Regions from separate parts of the Homo sapiens genome. Here region 1 is linked to region 2. The links are contacts of gene promoters, found by promoter capture Hi-C in blood cells and fetal thymus (Javierre and others, 2016). All regions are on one chromosome and are shown on one strand. The core of a region is centred on a gene start or on the middle of the fragment in contact, and the rest is flanking DNA. Distances in the headings are between cores, read along the strand shown. Region 1 has its middle 13 kb from the start of ODF4. Region 2 holds the start of AURKB (aurora kinase B).

Region 1 (3,479 bases), core at 948-3,447, 120 kb after region 2:
TCTTCACCCGTGGCCCTGCTCCTCATAGCTGAAGCCTCCATATTCTGGGAGTCAATTGTCAACCTAAAAGGAAGAGGCTGAGGCACAAAATATGGTTGAAAGAGTTTACTTGAGCCCAAGGGGGCCGGGCATGGTGGCTCACGCCTGTAATCCCAACACTTTGGGAGGTCGAGGCAGGTGGATCACCTGAGGTCATGACTTTGAGACCAGCTTGGCCAACATGGTGAAACCCCGTCTCCACTAAAAATACAAAAAATTAGCCGGGTGTCGTGGTGCCCGCCTGTAATCCCAGCCACTCGGGAGGCTGAGGCAGGAGGATCCTTTGAACCCAGGAGACAGTGGTTGCAGTGAGCCAAGATCGCGTGATTGCACTCCAGCCTGGGTGACAAGAGCGAGACTCTGTCTCAAAAAACAAAAAACAAACGAAAGACAAAGGGAGGACGGCTGCCAGGAAGACTCAGACCCAAGTAACCTTGGATATGAGCTCCATTAGGGCTTTGTTACAAGCAGGTTTTCAAAGGCAAAAAAGGGGGACAGGGAGTGGGCTGTGGGCTGATACAAAGTTGTTAGGAATTCTCATTGGTTTAAAGGAAGCTCTTTGATTAGTGATTGGCTATATACTGTTAAGCTATAGGGGGTGGGTTATAGTGTCCAGTGTGGCATTACCAGGTTAATTCATAGCTACTTATGGCAAGAGCAAGCCAATGCAAGCAGTTAAAGAGGTGAATACCTAGCTCAAAGGGGGTAATGGGATGTCACTGTTGTCTCATTTTAATTCCTCTCTGGCCCTGATTTTTTTTTTTTTTTTTGTCACAAGATTTGGCTTTGTCACCCAGGCGGGAGTGCAGTGGCACGATCTTGGCTCACTGCAGCCTCGAGCTCCTGGGCTCAAGCGATCCTCCTGCCTCAGCTTCCTGAGTAGCTGGGACCACAGGCAGGAGCCAACACACCCGACTAATTTCTGTATTTTTTGTAGAGACGGCGTTTTGCCATGTTGCCCAGGCTGGTCTGGAACTCCTGGGCTCAAGCGATCCTCTCTATGGGCCTGATAATTTTAAAAGCCTTGCCCCCCTCAGATAAAAAGTTTTTCTTTTCCTACAAGATAAGGCAGATAGTAAAGGGCACGGGCCTCTCTTTGAGCTGGCCTTCTGTGGGCTCCGGGTCAAGATCTTAGTGGCCAACATCGCAGATAAACGGGGGTGGGGGTTGCAATCATGCCCACAAGCAACAGAGGAAAGAGAGGAGCCTCGCCCTCTTCCCCCCACGCCCCGGCCCCCAAGCCTGCTCACTAGCTCTCTCCTCCTCCTTCCACCCGCAAGGAACCCTCCAGCCCACTTCCTGTGATCCTTTCCGGAGCCCTTCAGCCTGGCTGGCTCTCCAGCCATCTCGGAAAGCTTCTCTTTCCTAAACCCTCCATACTCGCAGGTTCAGCTACAGAGGTAACTGCAGGCTCAGGTTCTCCAGGGTGGCCAGCCCACCAGCCCACCGTCCCGGTGCAGCAGTGCCTCTCCAGCGACAGCTCCACCGCGAGCCTGGCGGGCTCCCGACCTTGCTCCCCAGCACGTCGTCTCCAAGCCACGGTCTCACCACCCTCCATCAGCCTCGGGCGACACCAAGGGGAACAGAGCGCTGGAGCTCCTCGAAGTCCTCCCGACCTTAGCGGGGCTCCGTTCATCCTCCCGGACGTGGCCAGGCCCCGCTCTGGCCCCGCGCCCGCCCCTCCCGCGGGGCTGCCCCTGTCTCTCTGCCGGAGACCCGGACTCAGTGAGTGAGCGCAGCGCGGCCATAGGGCTTCCTGCAGCGGGGTCTCAGCACGTCTTCTGGCTGGACTCTGGGGTCTCCTGGCCTGGCTGTGTCTCCTGGTTCTCAGCGCTCGCCTCCCACGCGGGGCGGAGTATGGGAGTGGGCTGCTCCCGCGGAAGAATCCTGGGGAAGTTGAGGCACTGGCTCCCGCTGTTCAGAACACTGCCCGACGTCCCCAGAGCTAGCCACTCCTCCTTCCCACCCACCCGCAGCACTCTCGAGGTCGCAACGGCAGTCACCAGGTCCCGGGGCCTGCGTTCAGCTGCTTGATCCGACTAGGTTTGGCTTCGGACCCGAATGGGTCAGCTCCACGCCCGATGGAGTTTTTCAAGCTGGTGCCTGCACGTGCCCCCGCCGCGGGGCATGAAGCCGTGGGCTGCGCCCAAACTGCCTCACAACCACCGCTGACCCGAAGCCTCTCTCACTCCGTCCACTGTTAGAAACCTGAAGCTGCCCTCTGTGAGAAAGCGTTGGGATTGAATCCAGACTTTTGGGGAACCTTAACAATAAAGAATACAAAATATTGACTAAAAATTGGATTTGAAAGTGACCCTGAGTTGTTGTTGTTGTTTTTGTTTTAGACGGAGTCTCACACTGTCACCCAGTCTAGAGTGCAGTGGCGTGACCTCGGCTCACCGCAACCTTCGCCTCCTGGGTTCAAGCGATTCTCCTGCCTCAGCCTCCCGAGTAGCTGGGACTACAGGCGTGCGCCACCACACTCGGCTAATTTTTTATATTTTTAGTAGAGACGGGGCTTCACCATATGGCCAGGCTGGTTTTGAACCCTTGACCTCATGATCTACCCCCATCGACCTCCCAAAGTGCTGGGATTACAGGGGAGGCACTGCGCCCAGCTACTCTTCCTTGATTTACGACAACCCTTGGTTATTGTGATTGGGTCGAGATGGGTATGTGTCCCAATTTGGATCAATGAGTTCAGAGACAGTTAATTCGAGACCCACCCAAGAGCCACTTGAATGAGCCATTCTCTCTTCCCCTGGACATTGCAGTGTGAGGATATAAGGTTTGGATCAGTGGCTGCCATTTTAGTGCAGTGAGAGGCAGCTTGGAGTTGCTGGGGAGGCCACTGGATACAGCCTGATGAAGGAGCCAACACCACAAAACTGGAAATGGAGAGACAAGGGGAAAGCCAGGTCCTTGTTATCATCACTTGAGTTCCAGGATCAAGTCTCATCTGAAGCTTTTATCTTGATTTTTCAGTTATTTTTGTTTGTTTGTTTGTTTGAGGCAGGATCTCGCACTGTTGCCCAGGCTGGAAGGAAGTGGCACGATCTCGGCCCACTGCAACCCTCTGCCTCCTAGGTTCAAGCTATTCTCATACTTCAGCCTCTCTAGTAGCTGGGACTACAGGCATGCGCCACCATGCCCAGCTAATTTTTTTTTTTTTTTTTTTTTTTTAGATGGAGTCACACTCTGTCACCCAGGCTGGAGTGCAATGGCATGATCTTGGCTCACTGCAACCTCTGCCTCCTGGGTTCAAGTGATTCTGTTGTCTCAGCCTCCTGAGTAGCTGGGATTGCAGGCGCCTGCGATCATGCCCCACTAATTTTTGTATTTTTAGTAGAAATGAAGTTTCACCATGTTGGCCAGGCTGGTCTCAAACTCCTGACCTCAGGCGATCTGCCCGCCTGGGCCTTACAAAGTGCTGGGATTAC
Region 2 (3,787 bases), core at 768-3,267:
TCCAGCCTGGGCAACACAGTGAGGCTCCGTCTCAAAAAATAAATAAATAAATAAATAAATAAATAAATAAATAAAAAATAAATAACCTAAGTAGGCCTAAGATAAGGGGCAAAGGACTCACACCAACACCTAACATTTCACTTCTTTGGCCCTGGCCCACACTTTTCAGGCATGAAGCTGTTCAACCTGTATAAGTCCTGTCCATAACAACACAGTCATTCATCCAGCCCCTCACTTACACCACAGTAGAGAGCTGCGTCAATGAACACCCACAATTCAAGGGGTTTAGCACAGAGGTATTCTCAAAGTCTCCTAAAAAGCTTAGTTTATTAAGGCTTAGATAAGATGCTTGAGGCCTTGAATGTTATAGCAATAACCAGGATTTACACTTTTGCAAGAACAGGCTTTAAGGACACTAAGAGCTACCCTGATGGCCCTGGACCACTTCTCACTTTCAACTTCTTCATTTTTTTTTTTTTTTGAGATGGAGTCTCGCTCTATTACCCAGGCTGGAGTGCAATGGTGCCATCTCGGCTCACTGCAACCTCCACCTCCCAGGTTCAGGCAATTCTCCTGCCTCGGCCTCCTGAGTAGGTGGGATTACAGGCACATGCCTGGCTAATTTTTGTATTTTTAGTAGAGACGGGGTTTTACCATGTTGGCCAGGCTGGTCTCGAACTCCTGACCTCAGGTGATCCACCTGCCTCAGCCTCCCAGTGCTGGGATTACAGGCGTGAGCCACCTACCTGGCCTCACTTTCAACTCTCAAAATAATAGGTACATTTTCTTTTAGGAGTGACTAAGGTAAAAGTGACAATGGTTTCTCATTCAGACTCCATTCCTGACAGCCTCACTCAGTGCTCCATGAGGGAGGGAGCTGATGTACAAGGGAACAGACAGACTCTCCAGGAAGCAAGAGCTCCAAAAACAGGGAGCAAAGCCTGTGCAGGGCCCCTTCCTTCTTCTGCAGCCAAGAGAAGAAAGCCCCTAGGCCCCAAATAGTGATATTGGTACCAATCTACAAATAAGCAAGTTGAATAAAATACAGTCCAGAAATAGACCCACATATATGTGGGAATTTATATATATAATAAAGGTGGCATTTCAAATCAGAGAGGAGGCCCTTCAATGAAATCTGTCTGGACCATTGGGAAATAAGTCAATTTAGATCCATTTAGATTCTTACCTCAATTTAGTCATTAATTCCAAATTGTAATTTAGACTTGCCCTGGGCCTTTTAAACTGTAACTTTATATCCTTTTAGAGTCTATTTCTATTTGCTGTCTAGTTTTTTTTTTTTCAGGATATGGATTGGGAATCATGGCCTGAAGGCCAGGCCCTGCCTGCTCAGTCCCAGATATCATTTGTATGTGACGAGCCCTGCAGAGGTCCTCACCAGCTGGGAGTCACTGGCTGGTCAGATTCACGTTGGCAGCACCTGACAGGATGTGGCTACAAATGACCAGAGCGGGTTCTGTCGTCAAACTTGGGACCCGTACTTTGGAGCATAACGGGGAAGAAAGTGCTTAAAGGATTGCTCATTGCAGGATCTCAAGTTTCCCAGCAGGAACTCGCCATGCGGGGTCATGGGGGCGCAGGGACGGAGGGAAGGGCCTTACCGTCTGTCGGCCGTAGGGCCAGGGGTAGGAGTTCTCCTTCTGGGCCATCCTTAGAGAGAAAGGGGGAGGAGAGCTGGGCGGAGAAGGGAAACAGCCGTGAGAAGCAGAGAAAAAGAGAGAGAGAGGGAGGGGTTGGACCGATCGAGCCGGAAGCGCTAGCCCGAGCTGGTAAAAGGGAGCAGGTCAGCACACTAGCCCCAATCTGGGCGCTGGTCTCACCGCCCCCGCCCTGCTATCGTCCCTACCTCCTTCCAGCCCTGCGGCGTGCGCGCAGGCCAGCCCAACGGACCCTCTGATCTACCTGATCATCTGCCCACTCCCGGCGCAAGGCCTGCGACAGGAGGCCAGCTCACCTGGGGTCCAAGGCACTGCTACTCTCCCGGCCGCCCGCAAACAACTGAATCTGCCACGCCGCGCCCTGGCCAAGGACTTTTCAAATCTCCCGCCCCGGCCCCATTGGGCAAGCTCGTCGCCCATGCCTAGTTCCCATTGGCTCGATGTCCTGTGACGTAAGTCATGGGAACCCAATGGAAGAGGCGGAATGAGAAGGGCTCACGCTTGGCTTCCAGTTTAGGAAAGTTTCCCCAAATTCCCCCAGTGAATTATCTTGCTTTTTCTTTTCTTTTTTTTTTTCCTTTTTTGAGACAGGTCTCTCTCTGTCGCTCAGGCTGGAGTATAATGGTGCTATCTGGGCTTGCTGCAACCTCTGCCTCCCGGGTTCAAGCGATTCTCGTGCCTCAGCCACCCGAGTAGCTGGGATTACAAGCGCCCGCCACCACGCCTGGCTAATTTTTGTATTTTTATTAGAGACGGGTTTTCGCTGTGTTGGCCAATCTGGTCTCGAACTCCTGTCCTCAGGTGATCCACCCGCCTCGGCTTCCCAAAATGCTGGGATTACAGGCGTGAGCCACCGTGCCCGGCCTTCTTCTTTTTATAAAAAAAATTAAATCTTTAATGTAACTGGAGTTTATCCTTATGCATGTATGAGCTGGGGTCTAACTTCTCTGCCCGATGGAGCGCCAGTTATGTCAACACCATTTGTTAAACAAACTGCCCCAACAGAATTTAAATGCTGCCCTTGATATATAATGTTAGCATATTTACTTGTGTCTATTTCTAGACTTTGTATTCCGTTGTTTGCTCATTTGCCTGTGTGTTTATTCTTGTGTCATTACTATGTCGTTCTTAAAAGTTCTGACATTCCTGGGAGGAGTTTTTCCACCAATAGACCTTTCGTTGCAAGATCTCTGTTAGCTGCCGTGTTGTTTGGGCCCACTTTCATTTTTCCTCCTTCCTGCCACACTTCCTTCTTTTCTGCTCTTCCTAACCCTCAGATTTCATTACTGGGTTAAATAAATACATTTTTGGGCCTTCTATGAAATAACCAGTGGATATTTATTAAGTATGTACTGTCCAGCACTCTTCTCCTTTCTTCTAACACTCTATTTTTCCTTTAGGGGACCACCTGTCTCTCCAGTCTATGCAGTCGGTTTCTGTAGTAGTTTCTGTTGCTGACAACCCCAAATCCCTAGGTTGATGAAGACCTATTTAAATCTCACTTTTTTTTTTTTTTTTGAGATGAAGATTCGCTGTGTTGCCCAGGCTGGAGTGCAATGGCACAATCTCAGCTCACCACAACCTCCTCCTCCAGGGTGCAACTGATTCTCCTGTCTCAGCCTCCCGAGTACCTAGGATTATAGGTGCATGTGACCACGCCCGGCTAATTTTTGTATTTTTAGTAGAGACGGGGTTTCATCACATTGCTCAGGCTGGCCTCAGGTGATCCGCCCGCCTTGGTCTCCCAAAGTGCTTGGATTACAGGCGTGAGCCACTGCGCCCAGCTTTATTCCCACTTCTGAAAGCACTTAGAGTTTTGAGGATTTGAGAAGGAAACTGACTTCATTGCAGGTCCAGAAATGAGCCCCAATTAACTTATACTAATCAATACCTTTTATTCCAGATTATGGTTATTGGATCAGGCATAAGCCTGTGATTTAAGTGGGCCAGCTAGTGGGAATCAGTTTCTTGCTCAGAATGCTGGGCAGCTCAAGGAAACACTTAACGTTTACTGGTTTATCATAAAGTGTATTACAAATGATATAGATGAAAAGATGTATAGGGCAAGGTATGGAGGAAGAGATTTCTGGAAGTGAGCAGGGAAGCATGCA

Evidence for each region. The method cuts DNA at HindIII sites, captures the fragments that hold promoters and counts their contacts. A CHiCAGO score of 5 or more calls a contact.
Region 1: a contact is called between a fragment that was not itself captured here and the fragment with the promoter of AURKB in region 2, in 1 of 17 cell types (megakaryocytes). The highest score is 5.5, in megakaryocytes.

What each region holds. Positions count from the first base shown.
Region 1 is chr17:8,325,392-8,328,870 of GRCh38, forward strand. No RefSeq gene overlaps it. Among named protein-coding and RNA genes, the nearest start is that of ODF4, 13 kb to the right of the region's middle. The HindIII fragment of the contact is 1,610 bases long and covers 1,393-3,002 here.
Region 2 is chr17:8,208,558-8,212,344 of GRCh38, forward strand. It overlaps AURKB (aurora kinase B), which reads right to left and starts at 2,018. Exons shown (of 9, transcript NM_004217.4): 1 at 1,973-2,018; 2 at 1,620-1,692. The coding sequence starts at 1,667. RefSeq lists enhancers at 1,250-1,909, 1,471-1,520. The HindIII fragment of the contact is 9,276 bases long and covers 319-3,787 here.